Regions from separate parts of the Homo sapiens genome. Here regions 1, 2 and 4 are each linked to region 3. The links are contacts of gene promoters, found by promoter capture Hi-C in blood cells and fetal thymus (Javierre and others, 2016). All regions are on one chromosome and are shown on one strand. Each heading gives the region's core, a stretch centred on a gene start or on the middle of the fragment in contact. The rest is flanking DNA. Distances are from core to core; before and after follow the strand shown.

Region 1 (4,103 bases), core at 420-2,919, 370 kb before region 3:
ACACTTCTTCTGGTTCCCTGAGTAACAATAAGACCCTTCCTTTCCTTCCTACTGGGAGTTCTTTGCTCTCCTATGGACAGAAGGGAATGAGAATTCAGATAAATCAGCCTTACGTTCTCTCTTGCCAGGAGAGCCACTTGCAGCTCAGTGGATCACAAGTTGGCTCCTCCTAGCAAACCCAAGGTGATGGGGACAGGTGCATCCACTCCCCATCCATGGCCATCATATCTCAGCCCCTGCCAGCATTCTCTTGCCTCTCCAGGCTTCCACGGGGAGAAAAAAAAATCACTCTCACTGCTTTAGTGGATCTACACTATTTTCTTTCCTGGCACGCCAGGGAACTATTACAGAGAATTGTAGAGTAAAAGGACTGGAAGTTGCTGATTTATCTAAATAACTCATTCCCAGGCCAGGCGTGGTGGCTCCTGCCTGTAATCCCAGCACTTTGGGAGGCCAGGACAGGTGGATCACTTGAGACCAGCCTGGCCAACATGGTGAAACCCCATCTCTACTAAAAATACAAAAATTGGCTGGGCGCGGTGGCTCAAGCCTGTAATCCCAGCACTTTGGGAGGCCGAGGCGCGCGGATCATGAGGTCAGGAGATCGCGACCATCCTGGCTAACACGGTGAAACCCCGTCTCTACTAAAAATACAAAAAATTAGCCGGGTGTGGTGGCGGGTGCCTGTAGTCCTAGCTACTCGGGAGGCTGAGGCAGGAGAATGGCATGAACCCCGGAGGCGGAGCTTGCAGTGAGCTGAGATCGTGCCACTGCACTGCAGCCTGGGCGACAGAGCGAGACTCCGTCTCAAAAAAAAAAAAAATACAAAAATTAGCTGGGCATGGTGGCGGGTGCCTGTAATCCCAGCTACTCAGTAGGCTGAGGCAGGAGAATCGCTTGAACCCAGGAGGTGGAAGTTGCAGTGAGCCGCGATCGTGCCACTGCACTCCAGCCTGGGCGACAGAGCAAAACTCCCTCTCAAAAATAATAATAATAATAATAATAATAATAGCTAATTCCCTTGTATCACATAAGTAACAGCCCTTTTAGATCTAGGTTTTAAGAAGAAAAGAGTTTCTTGTGGACCCTTCCTCTCTCTCAACCCATGTTAAGCTTCAGATTTTAGCCAAATAATAACAATCTTTCTTCTTTACAGATTTTATCAGGTCCAAAGTGGCAAGGAACTATCTCTGGTTCCATGAATGAAGAAGACATTGCATGCTGCATCCAGTTTCTTCACAGGTTACCAAAGAAGCAAGCACACCTCACCATAGCAAGGATTAATTTTTCTATCAAGTCAAGACAATCTAGTTTCATATTAAGAAAGCATAGGCTGGGTGCAGTGGCTCGCGCATATAATCCTAGAACTTTGGGAGGCCAAGCAAATGGATCACCTGAGGTCAGGAGTTCGAGACCAGCTTGGCCAACATGGTGAAACCCCATGTCTACTAAAAATACAAAAGAAAATTAGCCGGGCGTGGTGGCGGGTGCCTATAATCCTAGCTACTCGGGAGGCTGAGGCAGGAGAATTGCTTGAACCCAGGAGGCAGAGATTGAAATGAGCCAAGATGGTGCCATTGCACTCCAGCCTGGGCGACAGATCAAGACTCTATCTCAAAAAAAAAAAAAAAAGAAAAGAAAAGAAAAGAAAGAAAGCATATATTGCCCCTAATGTTAACATTTTTACCATATTCCTTCCAAAATGATAACACTAATATGACTGCACCAAGGAATTACTGAGTTTCTGAGCCTGCACTAGCTCTAACAGGTCACTCAGTCCCTCCCAGGTCATGGGTGCGAGCTCCAAATTCTGATCCACAACTCTCTCTCCTGACAGAAAGAAAAGGGAGGTCTTAGAACTTCTTAAGTGTATAATAGTTCACATTCTAACGTGTATCTGGATGGTTTCAATTATTTTTGCTGTGAAATATCAAACCATCGTATTTGAACACAAGAGAATGACATGCAGGAGTCACACAACAAATACATATAACAAGAGCACATTGGGGTGCTGGGAGGGCACGCGCTCTTCTGCAACTTCACCCCATGCTCCCTGTAAGATGTCCTTAGAAACAGAGGCCTGAAAGTCTGCTAACTTCAGTAAAAAGCAGGACATTTTAACAGCCACCCCTTCAAAATGTAAAAATATTGCTTCAGATTGCCAAAAACCATTTTGCACTGAACATTCTGACCTTTACCCCAACCCTGAGCCTCACCCCATTCCTGAAGCTTGCCCTATCCCTGACCTTCTGAGCTGAGGGCCCAGCCCCAGTCCCTGCCCCAGCCCCAGGAACTACCTCATCTGATTCTCACCCTGACCCATGCTTGCTGACCAGGCCTCTGACTATCTGGCCTACCACTTCCATCTAGGCCCACTTACTGCCACACCTAGCCAGCCTGATTTTGGCTAGATCTATTTAGTCCTATTTAGCCAAGCCCAGTCCCAGTCCCAGTCCCAGTCCCCAGACAGCTCCTGTTTAACCCTGCCTGTGAGATGCTGAGTCTCCAGACCTGCTCATCTGGTCACACCTACTAGATTCAAGTCCTTTGCTCTATTTCTCCTGAAGTCTGGCTCTAACATCCGTCAGCCGAGCCCCACAGAGCACTACTTCCTGAGGAGCAAAAGAGACCTAAGACCTGAGCTCACAGGCTCCATCCTTTCCCAGGCAACAGAATTGTTTTCTCGGACAGTGCCTCTCAAAATGGAATGCACATTCGAATGACCTGGGAGTCTTGTTAAAAATGCAGATTCAGATTCAGTAGGTCTGGAGTGAGGCCCTAAAGCCTGCATTTCTAACAAACACGCAAGTGAAGCCCATGTTGGTCCAGAAAACAAACTTTAATTAGCACAGTTCTGGAATACCAATTATAGTTTTGCAAAATTAAAAAAAAATGTTTACAGTATCAACAGCCTTAATTTCTACTAAGGGAAGAGAACTCATCCCCCCATAGAATGCTCCAGCCTACAGAACTTAGAGTCTGTCCCACATATATTGTGCACTAATCACACAGTGCTTTGAATTTCACTCAATAGTTTCCTATATGTGTGTTTTATTATTCATTTGGTTCCTTTACAGCATTTGTTCATTCTGCAAACATTATTGATCATTAATCTATTAGGGCCATAAGAATATATAAGGCATAGTCACTGTGTCCCATAAGGCAACAGGCCATTAAAGAAGATAGATATGGGCCAGAAGCGGTGGCTCACACTTGTAATCACAACACTTTGGGAGGCTGAGGGGGGCAGATCACCTGAGGTCAGGAGTTCAAGACCAGCTTGGCCAACATGGTAAAACCCTGTCTCTACTAAAAATACAAAAAATTAGCTGGGCATGGTTGTGCATGCCTGTTAATCCCAGCTACTCTGGAGGCTGAGGCAGGAGAATCACTTGAACCCGGGAGGTGGAGGTTGCAGTGAGCCAAGATCACGCTGCTGCACTCCCGCCTAGGCGAGAGAGCAAGACTCCATCTCAAAAAAAAAAAAGATAGATAGATATGTAAGCAGATCTTTTCAGCACAATAACAGTATATGTATATAGCGTGGAGGAAAAAGAGACCTGTAACCCCATTGGAGTTGGGGAATCAACAGGAAAGCCATTCTGGGCAAAAAAGTAGCCTGAGCTGAATCTAACAGAGGAGTGAGTCAAATGAAGTGCAGGGGACCCACAAGGCAGAGGAGCAGCCTGGCAGAGGCCCCCGGGTGAAATGGCTGGGTCAGAGAAGAGCTGCACACACCCAGGTTGTTGGGGCACAGTTAGCAGGGAGGAAGCCTCCAAGAAGAGGCTGAGGTGTCAGCCAGGGAACGATCACAGGGACCTTGTGTGCCACATTAAGGATCTTGGACTTTAGCCTGTGGACAATAAGGAAACAATTTAAGTTTTTAAATAAGGCCAAGGCACGTTTGGGTTTTAGGTAAATCACGTTTGGTGACTGTGCAGAAAATTAAACTGAAGGTGCCAAAACTAGAAACAGGCTGGGCAAGGTGACATAAGCCTGTAATCCCAACACTTTGGGAGGCCAAGGTGGGAGGATTGCTTGAGCTCAGGAGCTCGAGACCAGCCTCGACAACATAGCAAGACCTCATCTCCACTAAAAATAAG
Region 2 (3,708 bases), core at 1,209-3,708, 280 kb after region 3:
AACCCTCAGCGCCCAGCGCCTCGCCGCCCGCATCCGTCCCACCTCTGCTCCCAGGGCCGCCGCCGTGGCCCAAGCGCTGGAAGACCGCTGGACTCTCACTTTGGCCCCAGTGGCTCCCGAAACTACACCTGGCTGCAGGGAGCAGGGCTGTCCGGGATTCTCCAGAGCGCTTCGCCGCCTGCCACACACGGGGTGTCCCGGCGACCGCCTGACCCAGCTCCCCTGACGCTAACTGGTACCTAAGCGGGACTCCAGCGTGCTGCGGTGCGAGCCCCAATCAGACACCGACCCCAAACCCGCCCCTCCAAACTCTCGCGCGAACAGGCAGCTTAGGAGAGGCTCCCGAACAGCAAGGACCCCGGTCAATCGCCGAAGGACCCAGACTTGCGTGGCGAACAGATCCACGTGACCACCAGGGGTCAGCCGTAGAATAGGAGTGGCCTTAAGCGACGACAGAGTCCGGGCGTGCTGTATGGGAGCGGCTAGTCGTGCGCGTGAGCCAGCCCAGGTGGGCTAGGACCTTCAAAACGGTGCGCTGCCGGCCAGCGAGCAGTCCAGGTTTCAATACACAGGAAACTACATCTCCCAGGAAGCACCGCAGCACCGGACCCATCTTTGTGAGCAACTACAAGTCTCAAGCTATCCTGGGACCTGTAGTTTGTCGGCTTACACAATTAACGGAAACCATACTGTACATCTTCAGTCTGACTTAGGGTACTGGGCAGCTATAGCAAAGACCCAGCATTGCCCAGAAAAGGCATAAATTATACCTTTTTCCCCTTTTTTTGAGACGGAGTCTCGCCCTATCGCCCAGGCTGGCATACAGTGGCGTGATCTCGGCTCACTGCAACCTCCGCCTCCCGGGTTGAAGCAATTTTCTGCCTCAGCTAGGGTTACAGTCGCCATCCACCACTCCCAGCTAATTTTTGTATTTTTAGTAGAGACGGGGTTTCACCATCTTGGTCAGGCTGGTCTTTAACTCCTGACCTCGTGTTCCACCCACCTCTGCCTCCCAAAGTGCTAGGATTACAGAAGTGAGCCACCGCGCCCGGCCTAATTATACCCTTTCATATCCATAACTTTGGATTCCGGACCTTTACCTTCAAAGGAAGGAGAGGAAGACTGAAGCCAGAGAACCCACACTAGCAGTTCTCTAATGAGATAAATAACAAACGATATTTTATTTTTATTTTATAAAACATGCAGTTTACAACAAATTTTTAAAAAATGGAACAAAACTTGGGACAGGCAAGTGGGATGGAAGACAGATGCTTCTCAGCCATCAGCAGGAATAAATGAAGCCGGCAGCCAAGCTTTGTCCAGGATCCAAAGGCCCTTTTGGCAATGGTATTGGCAACACTGGTTTGCTTGGGCCACCAACACTCTACTTGCTGGCCCCTCCAGGTATCCCTGAAGCAGTTGGTGACTTGTGCTAAGTCTTGAACTACTGTGGTATCCTCTGTCACTGTCCAGGACTTCAATCCCTAGCCAGCTAGGAACTTACAGTTATGGTTCCAGGAGCTTCTCTGCCTGGATATTAGTCACCCAGGATATTAAGAATACCAATTACTTTCCATCTGGGTCAATTCTAGACTCCATGTCTGTACCACTGTTTTGCAAAGAATGAAGAAGGAATGAATCTGGCTCCTAGAACCTTTGCAACAATTCTGCTGTGTTCCAGTTCAATTAATAGCACCATCTGTGACCCTAGACCCTGAGCACGTCCAGTACTGGAAGTGGACAAGGTATAGCCAACTTAGGAAGCCATCTCCCAGTTCTGGGGCTATAGAACAGTAAAGGGAGAGGGCCGTGGTTCTTTGGGAAGGGTAGTCAGAGCGCCAGCACTGAGGAGAAGACAGCTGCATCTGTCAGAGACAAAACCAAAAGCATGATTCAAGCTGAGTGGAGAAAAAGCATCTTCTCATACTTCCTATGAAGGAAAAATGCAAGAGAAAAAAGGGCATGGACCTTCCCTGAACATTTTAGACTTGGGCAAGAGGAAGTTATAGTTAATGGAGAGTTTCGATAAAATGTATTTTACTGAATGTTAGGAGGATGAAGTGCTTTGTAAACTGTTAAGTGCTATTCTCCATATGTGCAATCAAAATCCACCCAATTGGGGGCGCTCAGGCTCATGCCTGTAATCCCAGCACTTTGTGAGCCCAAGGTGGGTGGATCGCTTGAGCCCAGGAGTTTAAGACCAGCCTGGGCAACATGGCAAAATCCTGTTTCTACAAAAAGTACAAAAATTAGCTGGGTGTGGTGGTGTGTGCCTGTTGTCCCAGGTACTTGGGAGGCTGAGGTGGGAGAATCACTTGAGCCCAGGAAGTCGAGGCTGCAGTGAGCTGTAATCACGCTACTGCACTTCAGCCTGGGTGACAGAGTGAGACCCTGTCACAAACAAACAAAATACAAAATCCACCCAGTCCAGTTTCCCTTGTCCCATCCCAGGTCTTACTCTTGGGACTTGTTTGGCCCTCAGGCTCAGGCACCTTCCAGTCCATCTTTCTGCCCTTCTCATAAAGACCCTTGAGCACCTTGTGGAAAGACTCAGGCTCAGTGCCATTTTTGCTTAGCTCCAGATACTTTCGGTACAGCTGAAGGGCTGTGCGGGCATCCTCAATACTGTCATGGGTTTCCCCTTGAATCTTCAGGTCTGGGGTAAGTAAAGGTGGAATAGTTTGGGACCCAGCAAAGGGAGGTAGGAACATGTCTCCCCACTCCTACCTGACTCCAGAAAACTAAAAAGCCTGACTGCCCTTAAGGAAAATTGTCAGACATCTTCCTCAGTGCACAGAAGGGATATTGAAGTTAATTAAATCCATTAGTAACTGTCACCACTAACTGAGGGTCTCCCCTACTCCCATTTTGTCCTCTAACACTTTTCCTACTTTTTCTTTTCCCCCCATGCTTTTATTTTTTATATTTAAATTTTATTTTAGATTTGGGGTACATGTGCATGTTTGTTACATGGGTGTATCGTGTACTGGTGGGGACTGGGCTTCTGGTATCCCTAATATGCAAATAGTGAACTATGCACCCAATACGTAATTTTCAACCCTCACCCCTCACCCACCACCCCAACTTTTAGAGTCCCTAATGTCATTCTTATGTCCATATGTACTCATTGTTTAGTTCCAACTTATAAGTGAGAATATGTGGTATTTGATTTTCTGTTTCTGAGTTAGTTCACTTAGTATGATGGCCCACAGCTCCATCCATGTTGCCGCAAAGAACATGATTTCTTTTTTTTTAAATGGCTGCTTCTGCTATTAATGTAGCAGGGGCCTACAAGGCAGAGCAACTCACCCAGAAAGTACCAAGCAAGGAATCGCAGGGAAATCATTCGTTTTCGGGGCATATGGAACAGGTAGACAGTGTCAAGGACTTGGTCCTTGGGCACCTGGCAAGGATAAAAGAGGGGGAGACTTAAGGTAGGGGACCTATAATTCCCCATTCTCTAAAGGCACAATGTATACCCTGAGGGGCCCACTCTCACAAGAAGACTCTTAAAAGAGCCCTGCCAAACCATCAGGTTGATGACCCGGAAGTCCTTCTGCAGGCCATGACCCACAAACTTGACTCCAATGTCAATGAGAAAACGAAGCTTTAAGTAGGTAGACTTGAGAGTTGTTAGGTGCTTGGAGGAAATTTTGGCATCGAGGTCACCAGGCTTTATACCCGAGTATTGAGTCAAGTAATCCACCA
Region 3 (4,059 bases), core at 1-2,500:
TATTTTTAGTAGAGGTGGGGTGTCACTATGTTGACTAGGCTGGTCTTGAACTCCTGACCTCAGGTGATCCGCCTGCCTTGGCCTCCCAAAGTGTTGGGATTACAGGCGTGAGCCACTGCACCCAGCCTAAGGCTTAAGTCTTTCCGATGGCTCTTCAGAGGTAAATGGAGCTTACACATAATCTTTCAATTAGGGGTCAGATTCACTAATGAGTGGTGAAATAATTTTCGTGGTTTTTGATCAGCATTTATTAAAATAGAGAACAGAAAGATTAAGTAAAAATAAAGAATAGAACATACCAGCACACCTATGACAAGGGTAAGTATCGTTTCATAAAGCTTGTGTTTCAGTTTTGCATGTGCATGTAATCGTGTTTGTGTGTGTACTGGGTACCAATGTAAAATGTATTCGTGCTATGAATCTGGGTGAAAAACGTTTAAGTCATTAGTCCAGGCTATTCCTCCATCCATTTGTTAGGTGACATACAGCATAGTACAGCGGAGCCAGAATACCTACTGCACGTCAGTTCTTCAATCTTTTTTTTTAATTGATTTATTTATTTTTGAGACAGAGTTTCGATCTTTTTACCCAGGCTAGAGTGCAGTGGCGCGATCTCGGCTCACTGGAAACTCCGCCTCCCAGGTTCAAGATTCTCCTGTCTTAGCCTCCTGAGTACCTGGGATTACAGGCGCCCACCACCAGGCCGGGCTAAATTCTTCAATCTTTAAAGTGAGGATAATAATAGTAGCTACCTATAGGCTTGCTCAAAGTTAAATGAGTTAATATTTATAAAGACGCTTACCACAGGGCCAGGCACTGTGCCAGAGATAAAAAGATGAATGAGAAATAGCCCCAGCCTCAATGCACTTCATTGTGGGATTTTCTCCATATTGGAAGGAGGGATTCACAAAATGCTTGTTTCCTCTCAGGCCTTCCTCTTCGTAATCCTACACCTACCTAGTAGAAGGACTGTCAGAGAAATGAGCCCAGGGCGTCCCCCGGTGGCGCAGCGCCGCCTTCGGTCTAAGCACTTGGGGCAGGGGGGAAGGGGGGGAGGGGGGAGCCTCTTGGCTTCGCACTACAATTCCCACCAAGCATCTGTCCCTCTCTGGCCTCTAATAACGAGTGCGCCTTGTGGTCCAGCGTCTGGCAACTTTCACGCCTAGCGTCGCGTATACCGGAAAACTGCATCGTCCAGAATTGCTTCCGAGTCGGCGCGGCGCAAGGCTTGCTGGGAGACACATAACCTCGATTTTCTTCCGCCATCCGGCTAAATAGTCCCATGTGCACTTTGTTCCATGGATAAATAAACACTAGGAACGCATTTCCACCCTAGATTTCAGCAGAAATGCTGAATGTAAAGGAATATTTGAGTAAAGTGAGTTGCCGTTCTTGAAGCCCGTCTCCTAAGGATTCTCCCGGTGTCCGCGTAGGGATCTCATGCTATATAGGAGGGCCCTGCCAGGCACCGTCTCCTCTCTCCGGTCCGTGCCTCCAAGATGGTGAGTCTTCTTGCGTGGTGAGGGTGGGGGTTCGGGTGCAGACTCTGGGATTGTGGGGAAGTGAGAGCCTGGAGCACGGCTGAGGGGTGGACCGAGTGTACATTTCATTTGCTCTGGGGGTCGGCGGGATTTGCGGAGAAACAGGAGATCCGAGCGGCGCCTTCCTGGAGGCTGCCGGTGCGGCTTGTGGCCGGAAAGGGACTGAGGCTGGGTGAGTTGCGCCGTTTTCCTAACAGTTTTCCCATCCTGTCGCAGACAAAGAAAAGAAGGAACAATGGTCGTGCCAAAAAGGGCCGCGGCCACGTGCAGCCTATTCGCTGCACTAACTGTGCCCGATGCGTGCCCAAGGACAAGGCCATTAAGAAATTCGTCATTCGAAACATAGTGGAGGCCGCAGCAGTCAGGGACATTTCTGAAGCGAGCGTCTTCGATGGTAAGTGGGTCACCGGCGCGAACTGTGTGAGGATCCCAGTATCTTAAAGCCTTCGCCCAACTTCGCCCTTTTGGAGGCTCTGTTCTTTGGAGCCTCTCAGGCAATTTCCACGTATTTAAGGTTGTTACTGGTAGAAGAGAATTCTCTTGTTTGCCGTTTTGATTCTTTTCTGGGCAGAGGGTGACTTTGTGATAGAGTGCACAGCCTTTACTCTGAGGTAAAGGTTTGCCTGTTTCGGTTATGAGATTGCAAAAACTAGAAACTTGGTAAATTTGACAATTCTTGTGCTATTGATTATTTGAATATTTGTGAAAATATACAGGTGAGGAAGAATGTCTTCAACGTTTCGAGAATGGAGGCCGTCTAGTTTGGTGTGCAAGGATGATGTTTGGAGCAATAAGAACGTCGCTTTGTTTTTTTCCTTTTATAGAAAGAGCAAGGTTCAGGGTAGGCATTAGGGCGGGTGTAGGTGTAGAAGGAACTGGATTATTGGTTTATTGCATTTAGAATGTCAGTCTGGTCCTTGCGGTGTCAAGATGAACTCACGTGGGATGTTAATTCACTTGTAAAACTGAGGGTTATACATATGTGCTCAGGTATTGGGCTGAACAGGTGCTTTGGGGGTGCTTTTATGTGCCCGACAGGCATTTAAATAGGTTTAGTTTTAATTGACGTAAACATGTAAGGTGCTCTTCATTCATGTAACAAAAAAGCAAGGTAGGTATATAATACCAGTATAACTCTATTTTCTATTCCTTAGCCTATGTGCTTCCCAAGCTGTATGTGAAGCTACATTACTGTGTGAGTTGTGCAATTCACAGCAAAGTAGTCAGGAATCGATCTCGTGAAGCCCGCAAGGACCGAACACCCCCACCCCGATTTAGACCTGCGGTGAGTATTTTAAAAGGAGAATGGAAGCCAGGGGAGTGATGGTTAAAATTTCATCCTGGAGGGTCAGGGTGTCCTATACCTGTAACCTCAACACTTTGGGAGGCTGGGACAAGAAGATTGCTAGAAACCAGCAGTTCAAGACCCCATCTCTTCAAAAAATATTGAGAAGGAAGCCAAGCATGATAGTGTGAACCTATAGTCTGGCTGCTCGAGAGGCTGAGGCAGGAGGATCACTTGAGCCCAGGAGTTTGAGGTTGCAGTGAGCTATGATTATACCACTTGCGCTCCAGCCAGGGCAAAAGTGAGACCTTGTCTCTTAAAAAAAAAAAAAAGTTGCTTCCTCCTGTGGTGCAGGGGGTATCAAATTAAGGTCTGTGCCTCAGGTTAAGCTGTAAGGCAGGTGAGACCCACACCTGAACATGCTTAGAGACACTGCAAAGCAGTGTTAGAATCAGAATTGGTTTTTAGGATGCAGAGTAGTGTTCTCCCTCCACCTCTATCAGCTTCCCATGCATTTGTAGCCTGAATACATCAGTTTGTGAGAGGATGGTGGTCAAGTTCTTTGGGGGAAGGGAGTCTTGGATCCATGGGTTTTAATTTACTCTTTTGTTTCTTTGTCTTTCAGGGTGCTGCCCCACGTCCCCCACCAAAGCCCATGTAAGGAGCTGAGTTCTTAAAGACTGAAGACAGGCTATTCTCTGGAGAAAAATAAAATGGAAATTGTACTTAATATTGCATGTTAAGTGTATCTGTGCCAGATAAGGTGGGGATTTTGTGTGTTAGACCAAGTGTGAAGTGACACACATTATTTTCATGGGGAAGAAAGCTTATTCATGTAATTTAATTTTTTTCTTTTTTTTTTTTTTTTTTTTGAGACGGAGTCTTTGTCGCCCAAGCTGAATTGCAGTGGCGTGATCTCAGCTCACTGCAACCTCCGTCTCCCGGGTTCAAGTGATTCTCCTGCCTCAGCTTCTTGAGTAGCTGGGATTACAGGTGTCTGCCACCATGCCTGGTTAATTTTTGTATTTTTGGTAGAGATGGGGTTTCACTATGTTGTCCAGGCTGGTCTTGAACTTCTGACCTCAGTTAATCCACCAGCCTTGGCCTCCCAAAGTGCTGGGATTACAGGCTTGAGCCACCTCGCCTAGCTATTTATGTAAATTAAACTTTAATTGTGGTCGTATGGTTGGCCTCACAATTCGCATAGCTGTGTGAAATGGAGATTAGGCATCT
Region 4 (3,786 bases), core at 717-3,216, 450 kb after region 3:
TTAGTTTCTCTCTCCCTCTTACCAGAGACCTACAAAGTAGTTATTAGTCTCAATTTGAAGGTGAGGAAACTAAGACTAGGAAATTAAGAATTCTCGCATAAGGTAACCCAGCTAGTAAGTACCAGAACCAGAAATTAGACCCGTTTTTTTTTTTTAACTACAAGTCTCTCCTTCATGCAGCCCTTCTCAAAAATTAAGCATTGAATTGAATTATCCCGGGAGAAATGACCCCATCCCTAAAGGAGGTATTTTATGTGGAAGTATTATGATACAGTACTGGGAGTCTTTTCCTTGTGATAGTTCTGGCTGTATCACAAAATACTAGTTTTTGTTTGTTTGTTTTTGAGACGAAGTTTTGCTCTTGTTGCCCTAGCTGGAGTGCAATGGCGCAATCTCGACTCACTGCAACCTCCGCCTCCTGGGTTCATGCGATTCTCCTGCCTCAGCCTCCCTAGTAGCTGGGATTACAGGCGCCTGCTACCTCGCCCAGCTAATTTTTTGTATTTAGTAAAGATGTGGTTTCGCCATATCGGTCAGGCTGGTCTCAAACTCCTGACCTCAGATGATCCGCCCGCCTCAGCCTCCCACAAGTGCTGGGATTACAGGCATGAGCCACCGTGCTTGTCCCATAGTTTTCATTTTTGGATTAAAATGAGTTTCAAGGGTACTCGTGGGAAAACAAGTACTGAAACCAGTCAGGTGTGTTCTGTGGAAAGGCAGTTCTCCTTTGCCTTGGTTAGGGTTGGAGGGCTTATTTGGCTTAAAACCAGATGGAGTGACATTTGTTTTTGCTTGTTTTCGCCTTCTGTAGTCATTCTGTGTCTGCTGTATCTGTTCTCCTGTCCGTGGAAAGCCGTCTAATTCTGGGAGGGCTTGCTGCTTTATGCTTGGCTTTGCCCAAGAGGCAGAGTTCTGGGTCTCAATACTTAACGTAAACTCAATCCTGCATTAGTTTTTTTCATACGTAACAGACGAATCTTATCCTTGTTTCATAGAAATATGATTTATCTGAAACGTTTTGATCTATTCAAGAGAAAAATACCATCTGTTAGGGAATTTCTAAACATTACCCAGAAGTAATTTGCTTCCTTTTTTTCCTATTTCTGCCTCTTTGAATTAGCTTTATACTCTAATGAGTTCCTTACTCTCTTTCTCCCAGCACTCTTCCACTAATAGGAACTGGTTGGGTAGTGAAGAAGATCTATGCATGGAAGCAGAGGTTCTTTGCTTAGAGAACTAGCTCCAGCTGCACTTGGACCTTTGGACTAACTGTCTCCAATACAATATTGCTGTCTTTGCATGAGGATGGAGCATGAACTGGTGACTTGGGAGGCCAATGGTACTGTGTAAAGTATAAGATGCTGGAGAAGAACAAGTTTGTTGTCCCAGGTGGTTAAAGCTTGGCAGGGTCAGGTCCTCTTTTTGTTTCTAATTTGAAAAATACTCATCATCTAGTTTAATTTGTGCAAAACTATTAGCCAACTATGACAAGGGCAGCTAGAAATGAAGATTTTCATAACTGAAAGAAAGTTCTTTGTGTCTCTAACAGTGGGCTTTTAGGTTAGTCCATGGCTGTGCCAGAGTTTTGTGGTATGTGAGAGAGGATTAGACTTAATGATTTTGAATCCTTAATAAAAGCTAAATCCGGGCCGGGCGCGGTGGCTCATGCCTGTAATCCCAGCTGCTCAGGAGGCTGAGGCAGGAGAATTGCTTGAATCTGGGAGGCGGAGGTTGCGGTGAGCTGAGATCACGCCATTGCACTCCAGCCCGGGCAACAAGAGCAAAACTCCGTCTCAAACAAAAAAAAAAAAAGAAAAGAAAGAAAGAAGGAAAAGCTAATCCTCTGTGATAGGAAATTGATGTTTGGAGTTTGTTTATTTCTTATGATTTAGAGACTCATTTGTTCTACTCTATTTTGTGTGTGTGTGTGTGTGTGTGTGTGTGTGTGTGTGTGATGGAGTCTCGCTCTGTCGTCCATGCTGGAGTGCAATGGTGTGATCTTGGCTCACTGCAACATCCGCCTCCCGGGTTCAAGCAATTCTCCTGCCTCAGCCTTCCGAATAGCTGGGATTACAGGCACCCGCCAATATGCTCGGCTAATTTTCGTATTTTTAGTAGTGACGGAGTTTCACTATGTTGGCCAGGCTGGTCTCGAACTCCTGACCCCTTGATTTGCCCGCCTCAGCCTCTCAAAGTGCTAGGATTGCAGGTGTGAGCCACCGCACCTGGCCTGTTCTACTCTTTAGACTGTAGCTAGGATGTTAATTGGTCCAAGTAAAAGATTAGTTCATTTTTTTATTAATCTTTGTTAATGATACTATTGTTACAAACTCCTTTCTGCCTTAGTTTCTCCATTTGTAAAAGATAAACTTGTATTTTACTGGGTAAAATGTAAGTACTTGGGGCTCTGACATAATGAGCTTCCATTCACTCAATTAATATTTATTTGTTGGCATTCAGTGTGCCAGGTCCAGTGCTGGAAAATCCAGAAATTTAAAAATTTAATAAACCAGTTTCTACTGGGAGAAATGAGAAAGCTTATGTTTAAAATTCCTAATGAAAAATGCTGTGATGTAGAGACATGCAGAAGAAAGTATAAAGGGGACATCTAACTAAGCTGGGGGTGAAGGGCCACTGGGATAGAAGAGGAATGGTGACTGACAGGAGCTGGTTTTTAAAGCACGAGAGGTGTTTCAGACAGAGGGCTCTACAAGAATAAACATAGCCTGAGAGGAACATTTGAGGGACTCTACCTCTAGTTTGGTTGGAATGAAACGTGGGTATAAGAATGTGGACCAGCCGGGCGTGGTGGCTTATGCCTGTAATCCCAGCACTTTGGGAGACTGAGGTGGGCAGATCACAAGGTCAGGAGTTCGAGACCAGCCTGACCAACACGGTGAAACCCCATCTCTACTGAAAATACAAAAATTAGCCAGGCGTGGTGGCATGCACCTGTAATCTCAGCTACTCAGGAGGCTGAGGCAGGAGAATCAGTTGAACCTGGGAGGCAGAGGTTGCAGTGAGCCAAGATCGCGCCACTGCACTCCAGCCTGGGTGACAGCGAGACTCCATCTCAAAAAAAAAAAAAAAAAAAAAAAAAAGAATGGGGACCAATGAAACTGAGGATGTAGGTATGGGATGCATGTTTTAACTTGATGCTAGACTTTCATGGAGTAAATGAAATTTAATAAAAGTTTAAGCGTGTCTGTGATCTACTCCAGTGTGCTTTCCTAATTCTTCTTTGGTTTAGCAATAACAAAATGAACATTTATAGGACTGAAAAAATATAAATATAAGCCTATTAAAAAACATATCATCACACTGGTCCATTTACGATGCCTAACATGCATTTTCTCTATTTTTCCAAATAATATCTTGTATAATCTGGGTTCTCCAATAGCTATTAAAGTAGATTCTAGCAAGTCTTAATCAACAAAATATACTAAAATAATGTAGATTTTGCTAGAATTCCTAAAAAGGATTTAGAAAAGTCTGTAGGCGAAAGCTAATTTGAAGGAATTTGAAAGCCTTTGCCAACACAGCAAGAAGAAAATACCTTCGGGGTTTGCTTGATAGCATTTTCTTTTTTCTTTTTTCCCTTCTCCAAGTTATTGCTAGAGAAATAGTATTTTAATACTTGTTTTTCTTTGACTTAAAGACTATGAAAGATGTCAGAATCTTGTATTACTCTGTAGTGAACAAATGAGACCCTTCTCTAAAAGACTAGGTTAAATTAACTTTTAACCACATTTACCTAAGTGAAATGCTCCATAAGCCATATTTTAT

What was found. Contacts are between HindIII fragments. The CHiCAGO score rates a contact against its expected background, and 5 or more counts as called.
Region 1: a contact is called between a fragment that was not itself captured here and the fragment with the promoter of RPS26 in region 3, in 1 of 17 cell types (M2 macrophages). The highest score is 5.5, in M2 macrophages.
Region 2: a fragment that was not itself captured here is called in contact with the fragment with the promoter of RPS26 in region 3 in 3 of 17 cell types (total CD8 T cells, naive CD8 T cells and fetal thymus); the score reaches 5.3 in total CD8 T cells.
Region 4: a fragment that was not itself captured here is called in contact with the fragment with the promoter of RPS26 in region 3 in 1 of 17 cell types (naive CD8 T cells); the score reaches 5.3 in naive CD8 T cells.

Annotation. Positions count from the first base shown.
Region 1 is chr12:55,668,139-55,672,241 of GRCh38, forward strand. No RefSeq gene overlaps it. Among named protein-coding and RNA genes, the nearest start is that of TMT1B, 12 kb to the right of the region's middle. The HindIII fragment of the contact is 1,116 bases long and covers 1,112-2,227 here.
Region 2 is chr12:56,315,779-56,319,486 of GRCh38, forward strand. PAN2 (poly(A) specific ribonuclease subunit PAN2) reads right to left here. Exons shown (of 26, transcript NM_014871.6): 23 at 3,530-3,708; 24 at 3,310-3,403; 25 at 2,459-2,656; 26 at 1,158-1,865. The coding sequence ends at 1,831. It overlaps CNPY2 (canopy FGF signaling regulator 2), which reads right to left and starts at 210. Exons shown (of 6, transcript NM_014255.7): 1 at 43-210. RefSeq lists enhancers at 195-783, 284-333, 414-563. The HindIII fragment of the contact is 2,294 bases long and covers 1,312-3,605 here.
Region 3 is chr12:56,040,668-56,044,726 of GRCh38, forward strand. It overlaps RPS26 (ribosomal protein S26), which reads left to right and starts at 1,251. Exons shown (of 4, transcript NM_001029.5): 1 at 1,251-1,502; 2 at 1,758-1,935; 3 at 2,696-2,826; 4 at 3,452-4,030. The coding sequence starts at 1,500. The coding sequence ends at 3,487. RefSeq lists enhancers at 972-1,761, 1,210-1,539, 1,680-1,939 and a silencer at 1,000-1,059. The HindIII fragment of the contact is 3,314 bases long and covers 337-3,650 here.
Region 4 is chr12:56,489,277-56,493,062 of GRCh38, forward strand. No RefSeq gene overlaps it. Among named protein-coding and RNA genes, the nearest start is that of GLS2, 3.0 kb to the left of the region's middle. The HindIII fragment of the contact is 1,138 bases long and covers 1,398-2,535 here.